Regions from separate parts of the Homo sapiens genome. Here region 1 is linked to region 2. Evidence: promoter capture Hi-C in 16 types of primary human blood cells and fetal thymus (Javierre and others, 2016). All regions are on one chromosome and are shown on one strand. Each heading gives the region's core, a stretch centred on a gene start or on the middle of the fragment in contact. The rest is flanking DNA. Distances are from core to core; before and after follow the strand shown. Region 1 overlaps IL21-AS1 (IL21 antisense RNA 1). Region 2 holds the start of IL2 (interleukin 2).

Region 1 (3,936 bases), core at 94-2,593, 200 kb before region 2:
GGCACATATATCACCTCATTTAATCTTATTTCGGGCTAACTTAGGTCATCAGATGTAGAAGAAATCTTAACTTAAATAGTCTAAGGTAAGCCACCCTGATAAACCCAGCCTAATTGCATGTTAAAACTCACTTTGGAGTGTGAAGATAGATGATGGTATCCTTGTTATAACCAAATATTAATAAAATGTTTTGTTGTTTTAAAAGTAATAGACAGTGTAAAAAATTAAACTATGTAAAAGGCTACAAAATAATATACAAATGTAATCTTCCTATTCTAACCTCAAGAACCCCATTCTTACCCTGCTAAGGTAACCACCATGAAAACTTTCTTCTATATCCTTCTAGAAATGTTTTCAGTGTATATGTGTGCATACATATACATACATATGGGTTACATAAAAATATTACAAGTATTTATAAGTGTAAATGTATGTGCCTTATGTAAATATACATTTATGTATAAATTATGATCATTAACATATAAAACATGTAACAAAATCATACCTATATATGTGTGTATATATACATATATATACAATAATTCTATATAAAATCCTATCTATGTGGTGTGTGTGTATGTGCAACCATGAACCTAGCACTGTACTGGATATTGAGGGGAATGGTTGCTGGTGGAGGCTGGTGATTGTGTAAAAGGAAGAGATAGTTCTGCACAGATGGTAGCATTATTTCTGATTATATGCCAAAGTTAATATACTGGATCGGGTACCAGTTTTTTTGTGGGTAAAGCATATAGCTAGCTGTTCACACAGTGCCAACTTACTTTCTGGGCCCAGGCTGATTTGGTCAGAGAACCTTCTTCCCTAGGAAGCTTGATCTGTAGTTCCCCTTATCTAGTGACACGTAGGAGTTGCTTTGCTGTTACAGCAACAGCCTGTAACTGTTTGACTTCCAAGACTGACCTGCTGGTTCCTTTGAAAACAAACCCATTGGAGTGACCAGTGAAGTCATCTATGGTGGTAATTGACTGTTTATTGTCTCCACTTGGCCTCCCTGCCAGTGACTAGAGGGTAAACACAATGTTTCAATCATCTTTGTTGCCCCAGCACAGACTCCACACTTCAATGTGCATTTGTTGAACAGATCCAAAGCTGCAATTGGCACTTAACACAGTATCTCACCTGCAGAGTCTCCACTTTGGAGAGGTAGATGCCCTTTCTTTATGATACGTTATCAAAGGCATCCTCTCTTCTAGACACCATGTGGAAGTACATCATTGATCTTTAATGCTTCTGGTTTCCTCTTTTACCCTTAAACTGCTTTTGAACTGTCAAACTGAAGCAAGCCATTTGGTGATTTCTATGCTTGGCATCTGGGGTTATTTGGGGTGTGGATGAGGGCAATTGCTTTATATTCTGAAACACTCATGCAGAGCCTGAGTAATCTTTGCTTTTCTGGGGAAGGAATAGCTTACAGTCTCTTAGGAAGTATGCAGCGCAAAAAGAGAATAAAGCAATGACAAAACAACAACAGCAACAACAAAATGGAAAAAAGATAAAAGACTAAGAACTTAAACTCTACAAATTTATGCACACACATTCTTTAATGAATTAGTTTCTAGACTTGAAAGCAGTTCAGCTAGACCGGAATACATCAACAGTCTTAGTTCTGTCATGGAGTCTCCAGGGAGGACTGCTAACTCCAGCCTCAGCCTCCTCATCTGTGGCACGGGTTCACTGGGAAAGAGGAATTAACTCAAGACACAGTAGTTGGCATTGACTCTCTGATGAAGTTCCAAGTGGGAGAGTTAGTATACTTGTGTATATGGAGAGAGCAGAAGCTACAGGGATATGGATTTTGACTCCATTTAAGGAAGAACTCTCAAATACAAAGCTTTCCTAAGGTGGAATGGCCACTTTGTAAGGTGATATATTATTTGATACTGAAAATATTTGAAATGTCCTGGATATAAGAATGTATTAAGTGGATTCCAAGTTCCCTGACATCTTTTACAAATATGATTTTGTGTCTCGTTGATCGCTAAGGCAGCATTGTACTATATAACTTTCTGCAGTGATGGAAATGTTCCGTATCTGTGAGGTCCAAAATGGTAGTCACTGACTACCTGTGCTTATTGAGCACTTGTATGACTGAGGAACTGATTTTTTAATTTAATTTAATTCTAATTAATTTAAATAGCTACACGTGGCTAGTGGCTACCATATTAGACAGTGCTGCTCTAAAATCTCTACCAGCTCTATAGTTTGAATTTTTTAAGCTCTCATCATTATCATTTTATAATCAAATACTGTGTCCTGGACACTGCGTATAAAATTGCTCTATTTAGGATATGGTCCTGCTTTAGAAAAAAATCACCTTCTTGAGAGAAAAGTAGAACCCATGTAAAAACACTGAATTGGAATAAGGAATAAGGATACATAGCAAATAAACTACTGCCAAACTAGAAAGTGCCCATGTCCAAACACTCTATTGTAGAGCCACAATTAAAACACAGGTGTTTCTAAGAAGCATAAAGATACGAAGACCAGCTCCTGTCCTTTGCTGTCTTTGGGGTGGGAGGGAAGTAGCTTTAGGCTCGAGGCTCCCACTGATGTGTTATTGTGCTGAATGCAGGATTCTTCCCTCAGTACCTACTCAATGGTCTGCTAGTGTTTTCCTATACATTAAGAGTAATAGAGGCCGGGCACGGTGGTTCACTGCGCCAAAGCTTTGTATTTCAGAGTTCTTCCTTAAATGGAGTCAAAATCCATATCCCTGTAACTTCTGCTCTCTCTATATACACAAATGTACTAACTCTCCCATCTGGAACTTCATCAGAGAGTCAATGCCAACTACTGTGTCTTGAGTTAATCCCAGCACTCTGGGAGGCCAAGGCAGGCGGATCACGAGGTCAGGAGATTGAGACCATCCTGGCTGACGTGGTGAAACCCTGTCTCTACTAAAAATACAAAAATTAGCCAGGTGTGGTGGCGGGCGCCTGTAGTCCCAGCTACTTGGGAGGCTGAGGCAGGAGAATGGTGTGAACCCAGAAGGCAGAGCTTGCAGTGAGCCAAGATCGTGCCACTGTACTCCAGCCTGGGCAACAGAGCGAGACTCTGTCAAAAAAAAAAAAAAAAAAGAGTAATAGAGATGTAGAACAATGTGATAAAGTGACTTCAAGCTTCATGTTACTTCACCAGAAAGAAGAAGGTCTTTGAGTTGGATTTTATCATTTTAGATGAGGAAGAAGCCCTGAAATCTAATCCTCATATTTTACAGAGAAGAAAACTGACACCTGAAACCCAGAAAAGACTTGTGCGTTGTACAGTCATGTGGTTATTTAATAGTAGACTATTTCATTTGTGTAAATTAATAATGTAGTAAATAACAGTTATTCTTCTTCTAAAATGTAATCTTTTTCTAAAAAAAAAAAAAAAAAATGGCGCCTCCCAAGAGCTTCTTGGAGTTGAAGGAGAGTCAAGCACATCATCTAACAGCATTTCTCTGGAGTGTTTCACAGCTCTCCTGTTTCTTAAAGGGGTGACACAGACATTTATTGAAAACCTGGTTTGAGGACTGGACTGAACTTCTGCTTGTGTTTATTTCAGCTAAGACGTGGTCTCCCCAGACCTGGTCCCAAGAACAACTGTCATGTGCTCAAGGTCTGCTCTGGGACCATATTCTCTCCAAACAAGGCTCTTTATAGCAGTTGCCAAGAAGAAATTCTTTCTTCTTATAATTCATTGAACATCCTTGTAAGTCACCTAGAGAATGGCAAAATCTAAACAAACAAGTTCTGTTTTCAATTTGTCTTCCTGAAAACCAAACTTCACCCACATGAAACTAGCTAGCATGCCTCAAATACTGAAAGCTTCTAGGTACTTTCTGAGTTTGCTCTGACTCATGTCTTACCTACATATTTATTCTTAATTAAAAAGAATCAAATAAAAGACAGAAGAGAAATTGGGCGCTCTTTC
Region 2 (3,832 bases), core at 1,079-3,578:
GTTTTACAAAACTTTGAAAGAGGGTCAGAAAGAAGAAACTTATGGGAAGCAGAGTCCTGGAAAGTCAGCTTTGATGGAGTGACAATATGTGCAACACAGTGAGCAATCTCTTAGGTAGGCAGCTTCAGGGATGGGGGTTGCCCTTTGAAAGGACTTGGGCCACTCTTGAGTCTAAGAGGCTAAGTCACAAACAATGCTAAGCAACTAAAAATAGCTTCTTGTTTAATAGTAAAATTCTGCATAGTAAAAGGAGAAGCAGGGGGTATGACACACGTGGTAGTTAGCAGTCTACTAGTGACTTTACTGCCACAACCAGAAAAGCCAGCTGATGTGTCAGACGTGAGAAAGCGAAAGTATGTCACAGCGAATGTAGCTTTTCCACACGTATTTCAAGAAAGAAATGAAAAAGCCAACTTCTATAATGGTGCCTACTGTGCATTAACAGAGATAAACTAGGGGTCTAAGAACTCAGTTTTCTACAGGGTCCCAGAAGTATAGCCATATATTGCCCCATTCTCTAATGGAAATAGCCAGAGAAATAGAAATATCAAGACTGGAGAACATCAAATACCTCATTGGAAAAGCCCCCACATAGGAAAATGTGTGGGCTTGAATTCTTCCATTCTGGAAGGGTAAAGGCCTGAGTGATGATGCTGGGATTAGACACTGAAACTCTTTAGAGAAGCAAAACAAGTATAATAAAGCTGTACTTTATTATATTAAATAAATAACACACAGACTACCAAATAGCCTGCCCCTTATAACAGCGTTAATGTGATTTTGATCTGAAATGTATAGAGACATTTTGCATTTTTTCGTATAAAAAGTTCATGAGATTTGGCCCTAATCTGACCTTTTCTTCATTTTTTTTTCTACTTGAGGGACTATAATCTTTATTTTTAAATTTGTTTTATATTCTCCGAACATTACCTAACGCATAGAAAACTCTTATTGAACCATTTTTCTCTGTTCTTTGTAAAATATTACATTTGACTGTTCCTTAGACTGCTTTAATCATTCCTGCCTATGCACCCTCCTCAAAATCCAGTTTAAATTAATTGTTCCTTATTCAAGATTCCTTATATCCACCTCCCTTGGGGCAGCAATCACCTATCACCCAGGACTACACTTGTGTATGTACATATCTTCCCTATTACAAATCAGGTTCTTTGAAAAAATACAAATGGTAAGAGAGTGGATTTTTGGAGTCAGAACATTCTCTTTTCAAATCCTTCTTCTGCCCCTTACTGGCAATAAGGGCTGAGTGACCTAGAGCAAATTACTTAACTTCTCTGAGCCTCAGTTTTCTAATCTGCAAAATAGGAGCCATCACTTCACAAGTCTGTAAGACTTATATTAGACTAAGTGCCTGCCTGTACACTGTTCTCTTTTCTCTCTTTCTATATACCTGAAGGCATTATAGGTGCTAGATGTCTGTTTAAAGACCAGACAATATTGTCTTAAAAAAACAAACAAAAACACAGACAATACCATCTTTAAAAAAAAAAAAAAAGTCCAGGTAAGAAATAAATAAGGCCATAGAATGGAAGCTTTACAAGGACTCTCTCTGAGACAGGATCTCCTCAAGTGTCCCCAGGTTAAATTAGAAGTATATATCCGTACAATTGTTCAGCCAGTTTGTGCACTGTACTGAGGATGAATGAACACCTATCCTAAATATCCTAGTCTTCTGACTAAAAACAAGATCATATTTCATAACGATTATTGTTACATTCATAGTGTCCCAGGTGATTTAGAGGATAAATAAAAATCCATTAAAGAGGTAAAGACATAAAAACGAGAAACATGGACTGGTTTACACATAACACATACAAAGTCTATTATAAAACTAGCATCAGTATCCTTGAATGCAAACCTTTTTCTGAGTATTTAACAATCGCACCCTTTAAAAAATGTACAATAGACATTAAGAGACTTAAACAGATATATAATCATTTTAAATTAAAATAGCGTTAAACAGTACCTCAAGCTCAATAAGCATTTTAAGTATTCTAATCTTAGTATTTCTCTAGCTGACATGTAAGAAGCAATCTATCTTATTGTATGCAATTAGCTCATTGTGTGGATAAAAAGGTAAAACCATTCTGAAACAGGAAACCAATACACTTCCTGTTTTATCAACAAATCTAAACATTTATTCTTTTCATCTGTTTACTCTTGCTCTTGTCCACCACAATATGCTATTCACATGTTCAGTGTAGTTTTATGACAAAGAAAATTTTCTGAGTTACTTTTGTATCCCCACCCCCTTAAAGAAAGGAGGAAAAACTGTTTCATACAGAAGGCGTTAATTGCATGAATTAGAGCTATCACCTAAGTGTGGGCTAATGTAACAAAGAGGGATTTCACCTACATCCATTCAGTCAGTCTTTGGGGGTTTAAAGAAATTCCAAAGAGTCATCAGAAGAGGAAAAATGAAGGTAATGTTTTTTCAGACAGGTAAAGTCTTTGAAAATATGTGTAATATGTAAAACATTTTGACACCCCCATAATATTTTTCCAGAATTAACAGTATAAATTGCATCTCTTGTTCAAGAGTTCCCTATCACTCTCTTTAATCACTACTCACAGTAACCTCAACTCCTGCCACAATGTACAGGATGCAACTCCTGTCTTGCATTGCACTAAGTCTTGCACTTGTCACAAACAGTGCACCTACTTCAAGTTCTACAAAGAAAACACAGCTACAACTGGAGCATTTACTGCTGGATTTACAGATGATTTTGAATGGAATTAATGTAAGTATATTTCCTTTCTTACTAAAATTATTACATTTAGTAATCTAGCTGGAGATCATTTCTTAATAACAATGCATTATACTTTCTTAGAATTACAAGAATCCCAAACTCACCAGGATGCTCACATTTAAGTTTTACATGCCCAAGAAGGTAAGTACAATATTTTATGTTCAATTTCTGTTTTAATAAAATTCAAAGTAATATGAAAATTTGCACAGATGGGACTAATAGCAGCTCATCTGAGGTAAAGAGTAACTTTAATTTGTTTTTTTGAAAACCCAAGTTTGATAATGAAGCCTCTATTAAAACAGTTTTACCTATATTTTTAATATATATTTGTGTGTTGGTGGGGGTGGGAAGAAAACATAAAAATAATATTCTCACTTTATCGATAAGACAATTCTAAACAAAAATGTTCATTTATGGTTTCATTTAAAAATGTAAAACTCTAAAATATTTGATTATGTCATTTTAGTATGTAAAATACCAAAATCTATTTCCAAGGAGCCCACTTTTAAAAATCTTTTCTTGTTTTAGGAAAGGTTTCTAAGTGAGAGGCAGCATAACACTAATAGCACAGAGTCTGGGGCCAGATATCTGAAGTGAAATCTCAGCTCTGCCATGTCCTAGCTTTCATGATCTTTGGCAAATTACCTACTCTGTTTGTGATTCAGTTTCATGTCTACTTAAATGAATAACTGTATATACTTAATATGGCTTTGTGAGAATTAGTAAGTAAATGTAAAGCACTCAGAACCGTGTCTGGCATAAGGTAAATACCATACAAGCATTAGCTATTATTAGTAGTATTAAAGATAAAATTTTCACTGAGAAATACAAAGTAAAATTTTGGACTTTATCTTTTTACCAATAGAACTTGAGATTTATAATGCTATATGACTTATTTTCCAAGATTAAAAGCTTCATTAGGTTGTTTTTGGATTCAGATAGAGCATAAGCATAATCATCCAAGCTCCTAGGCTACATTAGGTGTGTAAAGCTACCTAGTAGCTGTGCCAGTTAAGAGAGAATGAACAAAATCTGGTGCCAGAAAGAGCTTGTGCCAGGGTGAA

The links. The method cuts DNA at HindIII sites, captures the fragments that hold promoters and counts their contacts. A CHiCAGO score of 5 or more calls a contact.
Region 1: a contact is called between a fragment that was not itself captured here and the fragment with the promoter of IL2 in region 2, in 1 of 17 cell types (activated CD4 T cells). The highest score is 5.1, in activated CD4 T cells.

Annotation. Positions count from the first base shown.
Region 1 is chr4:122,658,790-122,662,725 of GRCh38, reverse strand. The region is part of intron 10 of IL21-AS1 (IL21 antisense RNA 1); the gene reads right to left. Among named protein-coding and RNA genes, the nearest start is that of IL21, 40 kb to the right of the region's middle. The HindIII fragment of the contact is 1,022 bases long and covers 833-1,854 here.
Region 2 is chr4:122,455,221-122,459,052 of GRCh38, reverse strand. IL2 (interleukin 2) reads left to right here and starts at 2,328. Exons shown (of 4, transcript NM_000586.4): 1 at 2,328-2,759; 2 at 2,850-2,909. The coding sequence starts at 2,613. RefSeq lists an enhancer at 283-342. The HindIII fragment of the contact is 2,130 bases long and covers 1,553-3,682 here.